2 separate regions of the Homo sapiens genome follow, and region 2 is linked to region 1. The links are contacts of gene promoters, found by promoter capture Hi-C in human tissues and cell types (Jung and others, 2019). All regions are on one chromosome and are shown on one strand. Each heading gives the region's core, a stretch centred on a gene start or on the middle of the fragment in contact. The rest is flanking DNA. Distances are from core to core; before and after follow the strand shown. Region 1 holds the start of RFPL3S (RFPL3 antisense). Region 2 overlaps FBXO7 (F-box protein 7).

Evidence for each region. Contacts are between HindIII fragments. The study calls those that stand out against the background at their distance.
Region 2: a contact is called between a fragment that was not itself captured here and the fragment with the promoter of RFPL3S in region 1, in 2 of the 25 tissues and cell types used here (IMR-90 fibroblasts and lymphoblastoid cells).

The regions. Positions count from the first base shown.
Region 1 is chr22:32,368,748-32,375,944 of GRCh38, reverse strand. It overlaps RFPL3S (RFPL3 antisense), which reads left to right and starts at 4,681. Exons shown (of 5, transcript NR_104232.1): 1 at 4,681-4,747; 2 at 5,004-5,046. The HindIII fragment of the contact is 22,540 bases long and covers 1-7,197 here.
Region 2 is chr22:32,480,777-32,487,973 of GRCh38, reverse strand. It overlaps FBXO7 (F-box protein 7), which reads right to left. Exons shown (of 9, transcript NM_012179.4): 3 at 3,850-4,077; 4 at 2,765-2,906; 5 at 146-229. Among named protein-coding and RNA genes, the nearest start is that of FBXO7, 9.6 kb to the right of the region's middle. RefSeq lists an enhancer at 2,296-2,465. The HindIII fragment of the contact is 5,819 bases long and covers 1,409-7,197 here.

The DNA.
Region 1 (7,197 bases), core at 3,432-5,931:
AAAAAAAAAAGAGACATTTTCAATGCAATGATATGCTGAGGGGATGACAGAATACATCATTGATGAGAAGATTGAACAAGTGAAGTGTAAGTGTCAAGTCAGGTAAGGACATTTGAATCCAGACTGTAGAGGTCCTTGTGTGTCAGTGAGGGGTTTGGTTTGATTCATTATCTGGGATTGTTTCGGGTTGTGAACTGGAGGCAGAATAGATGAAACTGACAGTTTAAAAAGACATCCTTTGGTGTCAGGTTCAACAAAGAGCCTGAAGGCAGCCAAACAGGAGAGGGGGTATCAGGAGGGTTGATGGCTGATCCCAGGGATCTGGAGGAGGAAGGAGAAAGAACCCAGGAGAAACCACAGGGTAACTGTGTCCCTAGAGGAACGGTGAGAGAGGGATAGGGATAAAGCTGAGTGTTGTCGATGGGTTGACCAGGTGGGTTTTATTGTTGTTAACTGTCTTGCAGAGAGAGAGAGAGAGAGAGGAGAGAGAGAGAAGAGCCCAACTGTGCACTTTCTCAAGAGAAAACCTGTATCAATAATCAATAATAAAATGTACCTAGATCACCTCCCTACTCATTGCTGGAACTTTTACCTAGTGTCCTTTATGAAAGAAATACCTAGTGTCTTTATGTAAGAAACTATTTCAACATTTCTTCAAATTATCTCCCATATTACTTGCTGAGTTTTGTAATTATTTTCCTATAGATATGTTTGAAGTTTATCATTTTTAGTGAGACTAGAATAATAAACATTCTGCACTACTTTTAAAATTATATAAGCAATATATTTGATCTTATTAAGTATAAACTTGATGATTTTATTATTCATTCTAATAAATTTTTAACAATGTTTTAATGTTATTCATATATAGTTGCCTTTAAAATGTTAACACATTTATGTAAACTTTTTGTGCTCTTGTAATATCCTTGGCCTCTTATTTCTCAGGAACAAATTTCTACCACAGAGAAGAAATATTAGAAGTTATATCAAAAATGGAGTATGTTGTGAATTTTAAAAACCTTTTAAAATATGGCTTTTTAACCATTTTTTAAATTTTTATTTATTTTTTTATTATACTTTAAGTTCTGGGATACATGTGCAGAACGTGCAGGTTTGTTACATAGGTATACACGTGCCATGGTGGTTTGCTGCACCCATCAACCCATCATCTACATTAGGTATTTCTCTTAATGTTATCCCTCCCCTAGCCCCCAACCCCCGTCAGGCCCCAGTGTGTGATGTTCCCCTCCCTGTGTCCATGTGTTCTCATTGTTCAACTCCCACTTATGAGTGAGAACATGTGGTGTTTGGTTTTCTGTTTCTGTGTTAGTTTTCTAAGAATGATGGTTTCCAGCTTCATCCATGTCCCTGCAAAGGACATGAACTCAATACCATTCAGGACGTAGGCATGGCCAAAGACTTCATGAGTAAAACACCAAAAGCAATGGCAACAAAAGCCAAAATTGACAAATGGGATCTAATTAAACTAAAGAGCTTCTGCACAGCAAAGGAAACGATAATCAGAGTGAACAGGCAACCTACAGAATGGGAGAAAATTTTTGCAAAAGATGGCTTTTAAGTAATTTACACAGCAGGTTGTCTATTAATATGTAACATGCTAACAGATCTATTTGAGCGATCCTATTTCCTTGAGATTAAAGGTAGATTTGGCATTTTCTTCAAAAAGATATTTTTACTCTGTTTCTATAGTGTGAAATTGTACTTCATTACGAAGTGATCTCTTATGTCTGTCGTTAAAATAAATCAAACCAGAAACTAAATCCAGCTCTAGGAAGACTACACTTTATTTTATTTATCTCTGATGCATCTTATAATTTTTTTTGCTATGAGTGTCTGTGTGGATACTCTTCATTAAGAAAAACAGATTCTTTTGGAATATATTACCTTTCTACACTAACATTTCTTCCTGGCTAACACGGTGAAAACCCGTCTCTACTAAAAATACAAAAAATTAGCCGGGCGTGGTGGCGGGCGCCTGTAGTCCCAGCTACTCGGGAGGCTGAGGCAGAAGAATGGCGTGAACCCGGGAGGCAGAGGTTGCAGTGAGCTGAGATCGCGTCACTGCGCTCCAGCCTGGGCGACAGAGCAAGACTCCGTTTAAAAAAAAAAAAAAAAAAAGCTAGATGACAACCACAATACTAAGTAATGCAACTCTAATACTAATGCATTTTACATAGTTACTAAATAATCCATTTTCTTGCTTTCAATATTCCTAATGCTAGATGAAAGTACTGTTTAGTTTACCAAACCTTTAATCAAAAATGTCTAATCAGTACATCTTTTTAGCCCTTTAATTCATGTTAGAGAGTTTTAAGATGGAAGAAACAAATTAGACTCAAATTAAAAAAAAGTCTGACCTACAGTAGCTATTAGATAGTTAACATTTGTGACATCATCATGATTTTGTTCTGATACATGTATTTCACTTAGCATTGTTGAAATCAACTGGAATAATAGCCAAATAAAAACATTCTTTTAGTTATAATTTCAAAAACGATTGAAATTTATCAACAGTCATAACAACATCATTGTACTCTTAAATTAGACAATTCTTAGCACATATAAAAACATATTTACCTCTTTCAACTAGGACAATGTTAGAATTTATCAAAATTCACCATCATCAACTTTTTTTTTTTTTTCCAAAATCTTGATTGTTAGGTACTATAAAACTGCACCCTAATCAAATGATGTGTTTTTGATCTGATGATTTTACAAAGTTGGGAGGAAATTCAACGAAAAAAATACTTGTACAATTAAATTTCAAATCCTAAACATTTACTTATTTAAGCCTGCCTCTCTAAACTTAAAATAGATATCAGCTCCTCCAATAGGATGAGTAGATTTTCTCACTATATTTTCCACTTCTTTTTAAATTTTCTCCTCCATTTGAGCATTCAGAAGCATGAATCTGTGGGGATTGTTAAAGTTTTTTTTTAGTTTGCTGCATTTCTGAGTATACAAACACATACACATATAACTATAGTATCGTGTGTGTGTGTGTATAATTTGTGTATATACATATATTTGTTCAATCTGGAAGCCATTGAAATTTTCTGTTTATAACAACACAGAATGACCTATTCTTTCAGCACCTACCCCATTACACCCTCTGTTTTATAATCACTGGACAAAATATAGCATCATCTATATTAATGCAGATTGTATACATCATTTGTGACCTATTTATTTGTTCTAGAAATTTGTACTTAGCAATGATAGACATTTGTACTGTAATATTTATATCATGAAGGGTACCTATTCTCTTTGAAACATAGCAACTCTCTCATCTTAACCCTAAAATTTTCATTTGTTCTATTTATTTTAGGGCAGGTCACTTTCAACAGCTTGTTTTCTTGGGCATATCATAAAAGTATTTGCAATTGGGTGTTATGTATCAGCCAGAATACACACGTAGTTATACATTTTGAAAGTTATCTAAAATTCTGCATTCAGAAACACTTTAATTATATGTATTAGGCTGGGCATGGTGGTTCACGCCTCTAATCCCAATACTTTGGGAGGTCGAGGTGGGTGGATTGCTTGAATCCAAGAGTTGAAGACCAGCCTGGGCACCATGGAAAAACCCCATCTCTACAAAATATTAGCTGAGCATGGCGGCAAGAACCTGTAGTCCCAGCTACATGGGAGGCTGAGTTGGGAGGATCACCTGAGCCTGGGAGGTCAAGGCTGCAGTGAGCCATGATCAAGCCACTGCACTCCAGCCTGAGTGACAGAGTGAGACCCTGTCTCAAATAAAAAATTATATGTATTCACCCAAAGTGTTCACCCCACCGAGAAGATGCACTGGTGAAAATATAGTGATTTTTTTTTCCTTTAAATACTCAGTGAATGGCCAGCCGTTTACATACACAATGGTAGACAAATTCCTCTGTGAATTCACAAAGTTTGGGAGATAAATAAGTGCATAGTAATATATAGAGATAAGTGGAAAAATAAGTTTCATAATTATATTGTGAGAGAAATATGATTTTTATAATATCAAGTAACACTTTTTTCTAATTCTGAACAGTTTATTGCTTCTAGAAACATTAGATCACTCAGGAATGGTAGAAATATGACTTTTTAGGGAAATATGACTTTTAAAATGTGACTTTAAAAAATGTCACTTTTTAAGAAACATGACTTTTATAACAATATCCATTTATGCTGTCTTTAATTCTGAACAGTTTGCTTATTGGTTCTAGAAATATTAGATGACTCAGGAATGGTAGAAATATTTGGCAATGGAATTTCGAATCGAGAATGGAACTTCTGGTTGTTACTAACATATCGGTTTTGCCCCTGCTCAGTTTGAAATTCTTGCCATTGAGTGTATTTTGGGGTACACAATTTCTCCTCCTAAAACTTATTTTAATAAGCACAGAATAGTAATTAATGAGCTTGGGTTTTGTTGTTTTTTTTTTAAGTAAAACGCCTAATCTTTTATTTTATTTTATTTTATTTTATTTTTTTACGGAGTCTCGCTCTGTCGCCCAGGCTGGAGTGCAGTGGCGCTATGTCGGCTCACTGCAAGCTCCGCCTCCCGGGTTCACGCCATTCTCCTGCGTCAGCCTCCCGAGTAGCTGGGGGCTCCCGCCACCACGCCCGGCTAATTTTTTGTGTTTTTAGTACAGACGGGGTTTCACCATGTTAGCCAGGATGGTCTCTATCTCCTGACCTCGTGATCCACCCACCTCGGCCTCCCAAAGTGCTGGGATTACAGGTGTGAGCCACCACTCCCTGCCGTAAAAGGCCTAATCTTTAATGACCCTCCTGTGCGTGTGAAAGCACTCTTGTTGGTGCAGCAGAAAGCGGACCTCACAATACACATTGTGACTTTACCCTGAGACGTTGATGATGCTCCTATCACCATGGTTATGTGATTGGGTATATCTTGCCCTCGGTCCTAACTGCCACTGTCTGTGCTGAGTTTTTCAAAGTTCATAGCAGGTTGAACATGCTTGCTGTCATTTTCACAGATTCTGGTCTTTCTTATGGGGAACCTGAGTTCCTGCATTAAAGGTATGTTCACATTGGCCTGTTGAATGCTGTCCTCTCAAATGTACTAGTTAATATTTAAAAATATATTTTATTAAAAAATTCTCCTCTGTATTTTTCATATGCAGTTATAAATGTGTTTCCCGGTTATGTTTTATTCCTCAATTTATATATTTGATTCTAGTATCAAGCAGGATGCCTTTGAGCTTTTCCTTTATTTAAAAGACATGTCTTATTTCCTGTTACATCTGGCACCCCTCAAACCACCCAATTAGGTATCCTTCTGGGAAAAATATGGCAAAGTATGTTTTAATGCAGTTTTTACCTAATTAAGAACCTATTAAAATCATTAATTTTAAAAATTAGGAGCAAAGCTAGAATGATGCAGATGTCTTTGAGGCTTTTAACACAACGAAGTGTGTCCATCTTTGTCTTTTGTTGTTGTTTTTTTGTTTGTTTGTTTGTTTTTGAGATGGAGTCTCACTCTGTCGCCCAGGCTGGAGTGCAACGGTGCGATCTCGGCTCACTACAACCTCCGCCTCCCGGGTTCAAATGATTCTCTCGCCTCAGCCTCCCGAATAGCTGGGATTTCAGGCACCCACCATCATGCCCGGCTAATTTTTGTATTTTTGTAGAGACAAGGTTTTACCATGTTGGCCAGGCTGGTCTTGAACTCCTGACCTCAGGTGATCCACCTGCCTCGGCCTCCCAAAGTGGTGGTGTTACAGGCGTGAGCCACCACACCAGGCCCTGGCCTGTTTTTAGTATGTCTTTCCTCTCTCCTTTTTCATGAAATGTGTATTCAGTTTAGTAAATTTGGAATATGTCATTTATATTCACATATTAACTTTTTGAAAAGAAGTAAGAATGTGTATTGTCTATGTGTCAGTGTGTGAAACAAAACACACTTATTTTTATGATTGGGGTTTATCCAAAATGATAGAGATAACAATTATAGTCAATCACCCAAACCACTTACCTTTCCAAAGGTAAATATAATCAAGTGTAATCATTTTTTCTCATCCAGAGAGTAGTTCATATTTCAACATACAAAGATAGAGAAGTGAAATGAATCGGTAAACACTATTAACCAAGAACATACAGATTTACTCACACCAGGAAACACGTAGGTCACATACATATATGTAAAGATACATTTAAAAATAATAAGATGATAATTGTACAAGTTTGCATATAAAGTGTAACTTTGAAAAACTGTTAATACTGTTTCTGATGGATTGTGTGACTTAGTTCTCCTGACCTATCCTTCAGAGTTCTTTCTAAGGAGGTTGTTCGTTCCATGACTTGGAAACAATCGAAAGTTAGAGGCACTTACATGTGTTAAGAATAAATAAGGCAGCTGGGCGCGGTGGCTCATGCCTGTAATCCCAGCACTTTGGGAGGCCGAGGCAGGCAGATCACCTGAGGTCAGGAGTTCAAGACCAGCCTGACCAACATGGAGAAACCCCATCTCTACTAAAAATGCAAAATTAGCTGGGCGTGGTGGTGCACACCTGTAATTCCAGCTACTCAGGTGGCTAAGGCACAAGAATCACAGAACACAGGATACCACTTCACAATTAGCCTCAGGTGTCACCCTTGTGGCAACTCTCCTGTACAGCTGGGTTAAAGAGCCTCGGTGCTCACATGGGGTCATCTCCTCACTCTGCCTTCCTTCACTGTGGGTAGCTTGGGCTGAAACTAGACCTCATATGGCTAGGTGAACTAGACCTGGCTGAAACTAGGCCCCCTCATGCAATGATTGCAAACACAAGGGATAGGAAGGGAAGACTAAAAGGAAGATCTTTGATTTACAGTGGATATTTTAACATGTATTTCAGTATTTTCCAGTTTTTAATAATTGATTTATAACAAAGAATTGAGTAAATATAATTAGCCCTGGTACCTGATATTGAATTTAGTTCCTCAATAAAAATTTACACATAAACAGGGGCTGAATCCTATACCCCAGATGTTAAATGTTACAGCAGCAGATGGGGGTCTGTGGAGGTTGAAAGGGAGTTGGTCAATATCAAGGAGTCAGTGGCAGTTCTGCTGGACTTTAAAATGGGCTGAGGGAGTGACAGGACTCTGTGGTTGAATTCTAGCATGCATTTTAGTAGTTGCTCATTTGAAGTTTGAGTATTTCGTGTCGCTTTCATCTGCTATTACCTG
Region 2 (7,197 bases), core at 3,069-5,568, 110 kb before region 1:
TGCATTCTTAAACAAACCACATTGTCTTCAATATGCTTTAATCTCATATAGAAATTTTCAGTCTTTTGAACATTATCTTTCAGATTTTTTTCTTATATGAATTTCACAGAGTTTCACCCCAAAAGTTAAATAATGTTTGTATTACCTAGTTTCTCTTTGCAAATAAAAGATTCTGGTAGCAGCTGCAATCTTTTCACACTTCTAATCTCATTGTTGATTTTTAGTGTAGCTGTAAATAAACAAAAGAAAGATGATAAAGAATTCTGTCACTTCATCAACTGCCTTTCTTTTTTAGTATGGGCTTGCATTTCCTAGCTCCTAATATACTAAGGACACATTATACAAAACAAACTGTTCTTCGCCTATTTCTTTCTCTGATAGCAAGTTCAAAAGTGTAAACCTGGCATCACATGAAGTAAAATCACTCTACAACACCACCTTTAAAAACTACAGTAAGCATCTTTATATAAAATCCACTAGGCAGCAGCTTATTAGTAACTTAAAGATATGCAACAAGGTTAATCAGAGGCAACTAAACACAATAAAATCATTATTTCTAATGAAGTCACTAAAAACTCCATTTATTTTTTATTTAACCCTTGGCAATGAGTCTTCCTTTGTTCATTAAAATAATCTTGCTAGTTTTCACAGCATCATCTCTCTTCCAGACCCAAAGGATAAATATACTTGACATCACCAGAGGGTTCAATTTTAATCATGTATACAAAGGCGCACTTCATCTCATTCCATGAAAGAGCCCAGTGATGTGCTTATGCACATGTGCACCAAGCAGGATGCCTTGGGTGAAGGAAAGATTTAAAGACACACTGCTCCTTTTCAAAGAATCAATCCTGGAACGGCTGGCTGCCATGCAAGTCTGCCAAGAGCTGATTTGCCAAGAACAGTAAAGAAACAAAACATCAGAAATTAGGAAATCATCAAGACATTCAGCAGTTATTCTTTTTATATTAAGTATCCTGAATCTAGTGAATAGAGGTTATTATACACGTCATTAAGTGCTTTTATAAAAAATCAAGGCAAAATTTGCAACTACACATTTACTATTTGGTAACTCCAACCTTGCAAGTTATGATGTGATGTAGCAGAATGATTAGATGAAGGCAGAAACTGTTGACACTCTGTGTACAAGAATGCCAAAGTAAAAGCTACATTTGCTAATTATGATGAACTGCTGAATAGACATTGCTAGGTCCTAGTGTCATCAGACAGTCATGTCCTGACAAATGTGAAGTACCACCAAAGCTATTAAACCTAGTTTTGAGACTTTTAAATAACATTTCAAAGAATCTTATGACTAAAGAAATAGAAATTTCGTAAGAGGCCAGGCATGGTTCACACCTGTAATCCCAGCACTTTGGGAAGTCAAGGCAGGAATATTGCTTCAAACCCAGGAGTTTGAGACCAGCCTGGGCAACACAGTGACACTTCATCTCTACAAAAAATAAAATAAAAAATAGCCAGGTGTGGTGGTACACGCCTGTGGTCCTAGCTACTCAGGAGGCCAAGGAGGAAGACTGCTTGAGCCTAGGAGGTCAAGGATGCAATGATCCATGCTCTGCCTACTGCACTCCAGCCTGGGCGACAGAGCAAGACCCTGTCTCAAAAAAAAGAAAAAAGAAACTTTGTAAGAGGGGAATGAGAACTATCCAACATGTCAAAGATCAAGATGGCATGAGTCAGTAGCTTTCAAAATAGATTTTAGCAGGAAAAAAAAAAACCAACATTTTTTCAAACAGAATCTTACACAGAACTTCAATAAATGAAACAGATAAACATTTTGCTGCTCAAGGTTTAAGTGGTGATAGGGCTTCTACCTAACTTTCATCTCAGCAGAAAGGAGTAGCTACAGAACATACTGAAAACCTCTGACCTAAACCTTTGACCTAAGGCTTACCAAAGCAACTGCCTTTGCTAAACGAAAAAGATGAGCTATACTGAATAAAAAAACAACAAACGCAGCCCTCCCAATCTTACCACGCTATCTTTCTAACTAAAAGGATAAATCTCAAAAAACAAAACAGAACAAAAATGAAAGCTCCTAGTCATTCAAATGGATCTCCAGTATGTGTGATTATGACAGAACACTAGGAGTTGATATGAAACAAAGTGGTACCTGAACTAAAACACAGAGATGGAATGCATTGCTATTCCAGTGAAATTTCTTAATATGAAAAATAAACAGGAAAAGTTATTCATACAGAGTGACATTTGTTGGGGGAGGCCCAGCAAATAAAACACATACTTACTAAGGCCCCAGTAAACTTAGCATTGTTGTTGTGCATTGCTGGTCACAGGGATGCCAACTTGGATAAATGGTGACCCCAGGTCTAGCTCCCCATGTCTCAGTTCAAGACCTTCGTTAAAAAAATAAAGCCATCCACAGGCATAAAGAAAAAGTATTCTCCAAGGAGTTCATGTGTAATAGGCTCATTTCACTCCTATTATCAAATACTGATAATATTGGATAATATTAAATATTATCCCCCAGAGCAAAATATTACAAAGATTAAGACATCAAAAAAATGGATGCCCTAAGAATGAAGGGTGCTGGCCTAAACAACTCAACAACCTCATATTCCATGATCTTCCAGACACATGTTATCAGTGGCCTAGGAATTAAATACAGTTGAGAAGGACTCACAACTGTATCATGATAGCCAATCACTGAAGTGGCTATAAAACATTTGGAAAGAAACGTCTAAGAATCCATAAACCAGCAACCATGACTATGCTATCCAATTACCATTTACAACAATCAGGTTTCCCAAAGGCACACAGGTGAGAGTAGCGGAGCTGCCCTCGCAGAGAGGATGCATGTACTGCAGCTTATACACCCCGCTCAACTTCCACTTCTCCGGCATGGACAGTGCTTTGGCTTCGGTGCCCTGGGGAACGAAATGAAAGGGAAACAAATAATGAAGAAAGGTGTTACTCTCAAAAAGATTAAAAATCCAAAAGACTCCTAACTTGTTTGAAATAATCACTCCACACAGTCCTCTTAATAAAATGCATCAAATCATTAACATTGCCAATATATTTTATATTGTAGGATAACCATATTGTATAAGATAATATATTAGAACACTTTTAATCAAAATTTTTGTTCAAATAGGTAAAACTGCATCATGGAAACAGGGATTGATCTCTCTCTTCAAAGACTCACTTCTCTCCTAGCAAAGCCATATGATTATTTAAAACTCCGGCTCAAATATCACTTCCTCCGTAAAGCCTTTTTCAAAGAAAAATTGTTTGCCATTTCCTTTCATCCCCTAGCATTCTATTCATATTTCCATTACACTTCAATTGTATTATTATCTATGTTTACCTGTGTTATTTCTGAGTATCTTTTTATTCATCTCTCTCCTCTATGTATGGACTCCTTGAAGACAAGAAATATCCCAATATTTTTATATCCTAATTTCTAGGTCAGTGCATGGCATGCTGCAGGTGTGCACTGATCACCGAACTACTCTGTATCTTTGTAACTTATAACATGGCTCACAGACCAGCAACATTGGTATTATGCAGGAGTATGAAGAAGTTCACGGTCCATTCTACAGTTACTAAATCAGAATCTGCATTTTAATAAGGTCCCCAGGTATTCCAAAGCGCATTAAAGTTTGAGAAGCAATATTCTAAATGTTCTCCTCCATGAATTCCTGGCATCCTATATATGAGTATGTTTCTCCCAGAACTTCACCAATATAGCACAGTGCTTTATATTTTTGTCTCTCTCTGCCACTCTCAGACTACGGGCAACTTGAGAGCAGGAACCATCCACATGTATGAGCAATCATAAGATGTCTGTGTTTTGCTTGCAGTACTTACCTGAGGTATGTAACCTGACTCCAACATGAGAAGATGTATCAACACTATCAAGGCATCATTGGCATCAGAACAGTCAGCTGATTGATACAAGGTCTCTAATGAATGTGGCACTTGCCCTTCCACCGATTCACTACAGAGCATGGGTTCTGAGGGATAGAAACCTGTGCCCTCTGCCATATGCGCATTATCTTGAATTGACTCAGCTTCAAAATTTTGACTAGGCCCTAACTGAAAAAGGAAAACAAAACAATGAATTAATTAAAGACTTATTTTTACACTATACATTTTTGTATCCTAAAGTGAACTAAGTGCTGAAAGTCAAAGTACATCATTGGGTTCAGAAATGGGAGACATTTTAAGTGAGTCCTTACAAATAAATAAGCCTGCGACCTACTCTTCCATCCTGAATTCCTTACCTCTGTTAATTCTAGCTGGTATGTCAAGAACCTGGAAATCATCCTAGACTCCTCCCTCCCTAACTAAACCTTGTTCCACATCTGATCAGTCTTCAAAGTTCCCTGAAACTAACTCCTAAATATGTCTAAAATTTGCCCCTTCCTGCTCTATTGGCACTTCAAACTCTCATCATTTATTTCCCGACATCCAGCAAGAGCTTCCGTTGCAAGTATCCCTTCTTCAACTTTCTTGTCTTCCAATACACCCCAGTCCCTGCTGCCAGAATTTTCTTGACAATTAAAAATCTGATCATGTACTATGTCGCAGCTTAAAATTCACCAGTACCTCCCCAACATAAACAGCATTTCCCTCAATTGTGCCTTAGATGTTCTTAGGAAAAAAGGTGGTGCACACGGAATAAGTGTGGAAAATACTGCATGCTGCAGCCACCTAACTTCACCCTCCATATTCACAAAATACACTATTCGCATTATATAAGCACTGAGGAGTCTAATAACAATAATAGTGTGTGCCTAACACTTTACCAAAAAACACTATCCTCCGTCCTCAGCAGTCAACATCCCTGTGACACCATCTCATGAAACTAGATTTTCAGAGGACACTGAGAAATGCAGGTCTACAAATGAAGACCAAACTTCTAAATCCCTTAGCATACAAAGTCCTTCATTACCTGATCTCTGACTCATTATCAAGTTCACTTTCTGCCAGTGCCTTCTTACTCATCCCAGTATTTTCCACTTCTTCAAAAGAGGTAACACAGACCACAACTCTGCCTTGCAACGGGCTTGATTACTGCACCTTATCACACTGCACTGTATTGCAATTTTCTGATTACATATCTGCATCCTTCCATGACTGCAAGTTTATAAAAAACCAGACTACATGTCACCCATTTTTGTAACCCCAGTAAAGTACCTAGCACATAGCAGGTATTCAATGTTTGCTGAACAAATGCTGAAGGATAATACCTTACAACTTCATAATGTCTTTATTTTCAAAATGTTTTCTTATTTGCACTTTATAACAATCCTATAAAATAGGCATGGCAGGTATCGCCTTTTTATAGATCCTATAATTATAAATCAGAAAGATTAAATAACATAATCAAGGTTACCAGCTAATAAAAATTTGAAACGAACCCAGATCTCTAAACTTGCAGTTCAGGGCTTTGAGATGTAATACATGGCTTCAAAAAAAACTAAGTTACCTATATTAAGTTTGCTCAGAAAGCTTGTTTCCTAGGCATATGCCCAACTCTTAATGCAAAGCATACGTTTCGTCTTTTTAGGGTTTGTTTAAAGAAGGGGCAAAGGAAATTAAAATTACACAGTATATGTAAAAGGTTGGAGAAATGGAGGGGAGCCGGAGGTGACAGCTGTTCTTCCAAAATCTCTGAGGACCTAAGCCCTAGGGCTTATGGAAAAGATCCAAAGTCACCTGTTAAAACCTAAAGGCCAATGACAAGTCACATTACCCAAAAAGGAGGTATGGCACAAAAATATTTCCATATTTCCTAAGAAAACAGAAACAACTACATTAAAAACCACTTAACATCAAGCTAAACTATGAAACATAGGTTTTGCTTCTTTACCACTATGTCTAACTTTTGGCCATTTACTACTTATTGGCAGTTGTGTGGGACAGAATATATGAGGAAAAATGAAAAAGGGTACCCTAGGCTGAGTACATGAGAGGGAGATATCAAAATCCCCTGCTGGGCTTGTCAAGCCTTACTACTACTCCATAAGAACCACTGACATTCTCTGAGCTATTCTGATATGAATATTTATCAAATTCTTCACATGTGTAAAAATGAAAAAAAAAAGGTGAGCACCACACCTCTCTAAACAGATCATTTTGCCATATGTCATTTACAAAAGACTAAAACAAGTGACTAAGATGCATGAGAGCTAATATTAGGTTCTGATACCTGCTACCCGTTTCTCATTAAAGACTCAAGAGGCACTCGATGAATTCCCAAATATGATGAAATAAGAAAACTGATATTTAATTACAAGAGTAAATTTACCTCCTATGGTTTCAAGTTTTACGCATCTATTTTCCTTTTCTAATGCTCCATTCTACATTACAGAGTGTGATGTACTTGAAAGCATTATTTATGAGATCTTGAGCTCAGTTTCCATACTCTAAAGATTTTCCTGTCACCCTTTACAAGTCTTGGAATACAAAACAATATGCAAAATCTTAGAACTGAAATTAGTAACTTCAGGCAACATTAATTTCTCAAAATTTTCCAAAAGGAAACTAGCAAACTATCACAAATACTGTGAAAAGCTTCATCTTACTAGACAACTTTAAAAGTACACAGAAGTAAAAGTAATGGCCCCTACTAAGTCATCCCAGAACAAGTCTATCAGCAAAAAAGACTCAGAAATATAATTTAAATATACAGCGAAATATTCTTACTCATTCCCCAGTTTACCTCTATGAGGCAGAAACACACAGATAAAACAATAACTTTAAAAATAAATTAAAATCCACATATCTGGACATAATTTTCACAATTTACCAATCTATTAAAAAGTATTTTTTAATATGTCTATACTTAATGCCATGACAAGTTACCATGAATACTTATACTCAAAAATGTTTAAGGCCAGCAATTAAATTGAGGTGATAAGCATACATACAAAAACCAATTAACAAGAAGGCATGTGTATTGGTATTAAAAAAATAAAGGTGATCATTTGCACCATTCAAAAAATTAAAAGGGCGGATAAAGGCCAGGCACGGTGGCTCACATCTGTAATCCCATTACTTTGGGTGGCCAAGGTGGGCAGGTCACTTGAGGTCAGGAGTTCAAGACCAGCCTGAGCAACATGGTGAAACCCCATCTCTACCAAAAATACAAAAATTAGCCAGGCGTGGTGGTGTCTGTGGTCCCAACTACTCGGGAGGCTGAGGTGGGAG